Linked DNA regions of Homo sapiens: region 1 is linked to region 2. Evidence: promoter capture Hi-C in human tissues and cell types (Jung and others, 2019). All regions are on one chromosome and are shown on one strand. Each heading gives the region's core, a stretch centred on a gene start or on the middle of the fragment in contact. The rest is flanking DNA. Distances are from core to core; before and after follow the strand shown.

Region 1 (3,786 bases), core at 186-2,685, 440 kb after region 2:
ATCATTATCACTGTCATCACCATCATCTTCATCATCACCACTACTGTCATCATTGCAGTGACCACTGTCATCATCACCATCATCATCCTCATTATGATCACCATCACTATCATCATGATTGTCACCATCACCATCATCATCACTACCATCCCCTTCACCAACATCATCACCATTATCACTATCATCATACCATCATTGTCACCATCATCATCACCACCATCATCACCATCACCATCATCACCATCACCATCATCGCTATCATAATACCATCATCACCATTATCACCATCAATCACCATCACCATCATCACCATCATGATCACTATCATCGCCATTACCAACATCTCCATCATCACCATTATCACCACCATCACTGCCACCACTACCACCACCATCATCACCATTACAACCACCCTCATCATCAGCATCACCACCATCATCATCATCCCCTCCCTGTAGACACTGAACTCTTTAAGGGGCAAGAGCACATCTTGGTCATCTTCGTGTCCTCTCACCCACTCCTGTCCTGGTGCTGGTATAGGACCCTGTGCACAGAAGATAGAAGCTCAAGGAGAAGAGAGTTGTTTCCTCCAGTAATCCTTTAGAGGAGTTGGCCAGGGTTGGGACTTCCTATACACTGTTGTCTTTGCCATCCTTTCTGTACTATCTGTGAGTCATCTAACAAATCACTCACTCACTCAGAACATCTCTAACAAATTATAAAGGAATAGCCACCTCGCAGGGCTGTGGGGAGACCAGAATCAGATACTGTTCTCCTCAAGGAGAACTTGACATGACCAAGGCTCACACTGGTAACAGTGGGACCAGGAAGGGTCACTTAAGGCAGAAACTGTCTTGGGCCATCCACCTGCTAGACTCATCGCTGTTCTACCTTTGCCTCCCTCCCTCTCCTTATGATGGGCCCTCAACCTGGAAGTCCTACCCCAGACTCGCATATCCCTCTGTATTCCTGGGCAGCAGCCTATGATGTGTGCTCCTTACCAAGCAGCGTCACTTACTCCTTCCTCTGGGTCCCCAAGGGAGCTCGTGTTAGCATGGATTTTTACCTTTTCCATATTGTGTGACAGTTGAGTAGGTGTTTTTCCCCACTACAAATGGTGACCTCAGGCTGGTTTGCTTCTTATTTATTGTCTTTGTGGCTCCCACATCATTCAGCCAGTGTCAGTCACCTGTACTGTGTCAGGCCTGCTCTTGGACCTGGGGTTTGCCTGATTGGACAGTGAGTCAATGATGGGTAGGTGAAGAATTGAAGTAGGATTCATCCAAAGTGTCTTCTGACGTCGTGGGCTTGCCGGGAGCTGGTGTGAACACGTGGGTGGCTCCCATCACGTATGGAGGGAGGGGAGCTCCCTGGGAGCTGGGAATGCTCGACCTGCTGAGTTCCGCTCTCAGAGATGATGATGCTGCTGTTTTTTTGCTGCCACAATTAGTGGCAGGTGATTCACACGTTTATGAGTTCCCATGCCTGCCATAACCAACCACAGACTGGTGCCTTAAATCCCAGACACGTATTGTCTCAAATTCTGGAGGCTGGAAGTCCAAGGTCAAGGGGTAGGCAAGGTTGGTTCCTTCTGAGGCTTGAGGGGGAATCTGTCCCAGATTCTCTACCTCTACCCCAGCTTCTGGGGGCTTACCAGAAATCTTAGCATTGCTGGGTTTGCAGATGGGACACACCAGTCTCTGCCTTCCCATTCACGTGGTCGTCTCCCCGTGTGCATGATGCCGTGTCCAGATTTTCTCACTTTTTTTTAAAATTATACTTTAAGTTCTAGGGTACATGTGCACAATGTGCAGGTTTGTTACATATGTATACATGTGCCTTGTTGGTTTGCTGTACCCATTAACTCGTCATTTACATTAGGTATTTCTCGTAATGCTTTCCCTCCCCCAACCCTCCACACTAAGACAGGCCCCCATGTGTGATGTTCCCCTGCCCTGTGTCCAAGTGTTCTCATTGTTCAATTCCCACCTATGAGTGAGAACATGCAGTGTTTGGTTTTCTGTCCTTGCGATAGTTTGCTCAGAATGATGGTTTCCAGCTTCATCCATGTCACTTCAAAGGACATGAACTCATTCTTTTTTATGGCTGCATAGTATTCCATGGTGTATATGTGCCACATTTTCTTAATCCAGTCTATCATTGATGGACATTTGGGTTGGTTCCAAGTCTTTGCTATTGTGAATAGTGCCGCAGTAAACATACGTGTGCATGTGTCTTTATGGTGGCATGATTTATAATCCTTTGGGTATATACCCAGTAATGGGATCACTGGGTCAAATGGTATTGCTAGTTCTAGATCCTTGAGGAATTGCCACACTGTCTTCCACAACAGTTGAACTAGTGTACACTCCTACCAACAGTGTAAAAGCATTCCTATTTCTCCACATCCTCTCCAGCACCTGTTGTTTCCTGACTTTTTAATGATCGCCATTCTAACTGGTGTGAGATGGTATCTCATTGTGGTTTTGATTTGCATTTCTCTGATGACCAGTGATGATGAGCATTTTTTCATGTGTCTGTTGGCTGCATAAATGTCTTCTTTTGAAAAGTGTCTGTTCATATCCTTTGCCCACTTTTTGATGGGGTTGTTTGATTTTTTCTTATAAATTTGTTTAAGTTCTTTGCAGAAGAAACTGAATGCCTTCCTTACACCTTATACAAAAATTAATTCACGATGGATTAAAGACTTAAATGTTAGACCTAAAACCATAAAAACACTAGAAGAAAACCTAGGTAGTACCATTCAGGACATAGGCATGGGCAAGGACTTCATGACTAAAACACCAAAAACAATGGCAACAAAAGCTAAAATAGACAAGTGGGATCTAATTAAACTCAAGAGCTTCTGCACAGCAAAAGAAACTACCATCAGAGTGAACAGGCAATCTACAGAATGGGAGAAAATTTTTGCAATCTGTCCATCTGACAAAGGGCTAATATCCAGATTTACTCCCTTTTTAAGGACACAGTTATTGCATTAGGGTCCACCCTGCTCCTGTATGACATCATCTTAACTTGATTACGTCTGCAAAGATCCTATTCCCAAATAAATCACATTCATAGGGTATGGGCATTAGGACTTCAACATTTATTTAGAGGGGCACAGTTCAGCCCATAACAACATGTCTTATTTATATTCTGTTTGATCCTGACAGCAGCCCTGAAGTTAAGTAGTGGCTCTGATTTTCATGGGGGAATCAGAGGACTGCTGGGTGGGTGGGTTTCCCTAGGAATCAAGGTTGGTGTGCCCCACTGGGTTGCAAACCCAGGCTTTCCGACCTTTGAGCTCTTGCTCCTTCTAGATGATTCTCAAGGTGGTGCTCTTAGCATTTTCTGGAGCAGATGGTTCTTGCTTTGTGGGGTTGGCCCCCGTGCTGCACAGACACAGCATCCCCACCCTGTCCACAAATGACGGTGGACACCTATCTTTGCAATCACCTGCAGTGGCACAGAAGTCCCCTGAGAGGCAGTTTGGAGCCCTGTGCTCCTCCAAGGAATTGCCCCTTGGCTGAAGCTTCTCTGCAGGTGTCAGGGAGGGAGCCATGGGCTCTGTGGATGTTGGAGCTTGAATTGGAGGGGCCTAGAAGGATTCCTGCAACTGAAGGGTGAGTAGTGAGCGGCCCCACCTGGTCACACCTGATACAGCTTGTTTCTTGTGCCAGGAGTTTCCAGAGAGTCCTTGCTTAGCCAAGGATGGGGGAGGGTGCGGGTCTGGAAATCTTTCTGGAATAAACAACTGCCCCCACCCAGCCTCACAGCCCTGTG
Region 2 (3,507 bases), core at 765-3,264:
TCTCAGAAATTTGTCTTGGAAATTCCCACTCTGCTCTTCCCCGGCAGTATCAGCAGTCGCTTAGATCTGTGAGTGTTCTGTGGGAGCTCATTTCTCACCAGCACTCCCTGTGTGCTGTCTTCCCTCCACCTTTTCCCTCCGGGTTCGCTTGGCTGGAGATTGTCCTCAGATCACTCTTGTCTCCTCCTCCCCAGTGCGTGATTTCTAAAGCCTTGCCTGTGACACTGGTCAGAGAACAGGCTCAGCGTGGTGGCATGTCACCATGAAACAGATGGACTTGGCTCAGGGTCCCCAAATGTGTCACTTCCCAGGAACTCTCCTTTCCTGCCGGGAGACTGAGCTCCGAGGACACCTTGGGCCATTCTGTAACTTCCTGGTTACCTTTAGTTATGGAAAGCCGTTGACCTCATAATTGTAAAAGGCTAATTGAATGTTTGAATCAGAGTGCGTTGGAGCTCAGCGGTGCTTCACTCCTCCCTCCTCCGACCTTGCCCTGCCTGGGGTCCTTCCGAGGCCCCAGAGGAGAGCGGGAAGCTGGAAGCCATGGGTCTTGTGCAAAGCCCTGCTTGGCTGGTCGTCAGGACTCAGGGCCTGCCTGCCCCTCTGCGCCTCTAGGGCGGGCATTGAATGCTGAATCCTCCCGGGCTTTGCCCTCTTCTCCTGCGAGCAGAGACTGAAGATATTTGAGGCTGAGAGGAGGACAGAAGGGAATGGCAGGTTTTTTTGTGAATGTACCAGGCCTGCTGGCAGGCGTTTCCCAGCTTAGCTGACAGATCAGAACGCAGAATCAGTCACTGCACAGGAAAGGGGTTGGACAGAATTGCACCAAGCATGCAGCTGATTTACAGACATGAGAGGCTTTATTGTAAGGAAATTCATTCATTACTTTGTTATTGTTTTTAAATAGATGGAGACAACAGGAAGGAAGGAGACCTTCCTGGTCACAGGTGGCCACTGGAGAACAGGCAGCGAGCGGCCCTGGAGGATCCAGGGTCCCAATGGTGGTTGAGAAGCTGGTTCTTAGTGATCACTGAGCAACATTGGCCTGGCCTTGTGGGGTCAGACCTTGCATCTCAGTCAGCCGAGGGAGAAGAAGAAGATGGTCCACACCCAAGTGCAGGGAACACCATGGCAGTTGGCTGGGTGCCCGCGTCCAGGCAAGGCCACCTCCTGCATCAAGGAAACATGCATTTCCGGAGTGAGGAGGCTGAAGGCAGGGCCCAGTGGAGAGCTGAGCCATGGAAGGAGGTGCGTGCATGGATGATGAGCTGGAGAAGGGGCAGGTGCCTCAGGGAGGATGCGTGGGATGAATTAATTCAGGGAAATCATAACAAATGCTTTCACCAAACAGGTGAAACCTGAAGGTCTGGGTTCAGAGCCTCAGATCTTACACTGGCAGCACACGGGGACACAGCAGCTGGACTGACAGCAGCAGGGCTTGCAGCAGCTAGACTGGCAGCACACGGGGACACAGCAGCTGGACTGGCAGCAGCAGGGATTGCAGCAGCTGGACTGGCAGCAGGATCCACAGCCTGAGGAGCAGCAGCAGGGCTTACAGCAATTGCACTGGGAGCAGCCACAAGAACCACAGCCCCCCTTGGAGCCCCCACAGGAACCACAGCCACCTTTGGAGCCCCCACAGGAGCCACAGCCCCCCTTGGAGCCCCCACAAGAACCACAGCCCCCCTTGGAGCCCCCACAGGAGCCACAGCCCCCCTTGGAGCCCCCACAGGAACCACAGCCCCCTTTGGAGCCCCCACAAGAGCCACAGTCCCCCTTGGAGCCCCCACAGGAGCCACAGCTGGAGCAGGAACAGGCTGGCACACAGCAGCACACGGGCTTGCAGCAGCAGACGGGCACACAGCAGCTGGAGCCACAGCCCCCACAGCCAGAGCCATAGCCCCCACAGCCGGAGCCACAGCCCCCACAGCCGGAGCCACAACCCCCACAGCCGGAGCCACAGCCTCCGGAGCAGCCACAGCAGCCCATGATTCTGGTAGATTGAGGGTGGATCAGGTAGAGGAGCAGGTGAGAGGGAGGTGCAGGTGTGGAGCTCCCTGAGCCCGGGCTCTTTATATACCTGTCCAGATGTCAGGCAGGACACAGGGTCCCTTTCTTGTGACTGTTTACATTATTTTTCCAGAGCTCTGTTTTTTTCCTTTTTGCTAGTGACTTCCTCCTGGCTCAGTTGAGCATCTACTTTCTTTGTATGCTAAATTTGTCTTTTTCCCCGTTTGTTTTGGCCCCTATAATTAAAACCTCAACTCCAGGCTGTCTGGTACTTCTTGCAAAGCTCCAGGGTGCTGGTCACCTGCTCTCTGCTGACCACATGTGACCAATGGGCAACAGCCTCTGCCCACATGCTCTCATCTTTCCTGTGTTAACTCCCCCAGTAATATTAATTTTACATTTTCAGATTTCAAAAGTTATCCATGGTCTTTATATTTTACTCATACCAGTCTCAGCTTTCTGGGTGTGTTAGACCATTCTTTGCATTGCTCTAAAGAAATACTTGAGGCTGGGTAATTTATAAAGGAAAGAGGTTAGAATGGCTCATGGTTCTGCAGGCTGCACAAGCATGGCACCCACCTCTGCTCAGCTTCTGGGGAGGCCCTCAGGGAGGTTTTCCTCATGGTGGAAGGCGAAGCAGGAGTAGGCACGCCACATGGTGAGAATGGGAGCAAGGGGTGAGGAGGGGCCACACACTTGCGAACAACCAGATCTGAGTGAACACACTCATCGCCAAGGAGATGGCGCTAAGCCAGTTATGAGGGATCCGCCCCCATGACCTAAACACCTCCTTGCAGGCCCCTCCTTCAACACTGGGGATTACATTTCGACAAGAGATTTGGAGGGGACAGCCCAACTATGTCATTATCCCCCTGACCCCTCAAATCTCATGTCCTTACATCACAAAATAGGATCATCTCTTCTCAACAGTCCTCTCAATGTCTTGACTCATTCCAACATCAAGTCTGAAGTCCCAAGTCCAAGTTCCTTCTACCTATGAACCTGTGAAAATCAAAATACATTATTTACTTACAAGATGCAATGAGGGTAGAAGCATTGGGTAAACATTCCCATTCCAAAAGGGAGAAGTCAGCCCAAAGGAAGGGGCTACGGACCCCATGCATGTCTGAAATCCAGCAGGGCAGCCATTAAATCTTAAAGCTCCAAAATAATGTCCTTGGACTCCCAGTCCCACATCCAGGGTACACTGGAGTGAGGGGTGGACTCCTAAGGCCTTGGGGAACTCCACCCTCGTGACTTTGCAGGGTTCACCCCCTGCAGCTGCTCTCATGGGTTGGAGTTGGGTGCCTGCAGCTTCTCCATGCTCAAGATGCAAGCTGTCAGTTGCTCTACCATTCTGGGGGCTGGAGGATGGTGTCCTCCTTCCCACTGCTCAGTTAAGCAGTGCCCCTGTGGGGATCATTTACACAAGTAAAAGATCCTTCCCCACCCCTCACCCCTGTGGTGATATCTGTGCCCTTGTTCTTCACAGGGCAC

What was found. The method cuts DNA at HindIII sites, captures the fragments that hold promoters and counts their contacts. A contact is called where the count stands out against the background at its distance.
Region 1: a fragment that was not itself captured here is called in contact with the fragment with the promoter of KRTAP5-10 in region 2 in 2 of the 25 tissues and cell types used here (IMR-90 fibroblasts and mesendoderm cells).

The regions. Positions count from the first base shown.
Region 1 is chr11:71,120,634-71,124,419 of GRCh38, reverse strand. All of the region lies in intron 3 of SHANK2 (SH3 and multiple ankyrin repeat domains 2), which reads left to right. Among named protein-coding and RNA genes, the nearest start is that of SHANK2, 130 kb to the left of the region's middle. The HindIII fragment of the contact is 5,106 bases long and covers 1-3,786 here.
Region 2 is chr11:71,564,070-71,567,576 of GRCh38, reverse strand. KRTAP5-10 (keratin associated protein 5-10) reads right to left here and starts at 2,014. Exons shown (of 1, transcript NM_001012710.2): 1 at 842-2,014. The coding sequence starts at 1,989. The coding sequence ends at 1,381. RefSeq lists an enhancer at 812-1,627. The HindIII fragment of the contact is 12,390 bases long and covers 1-3,507 here.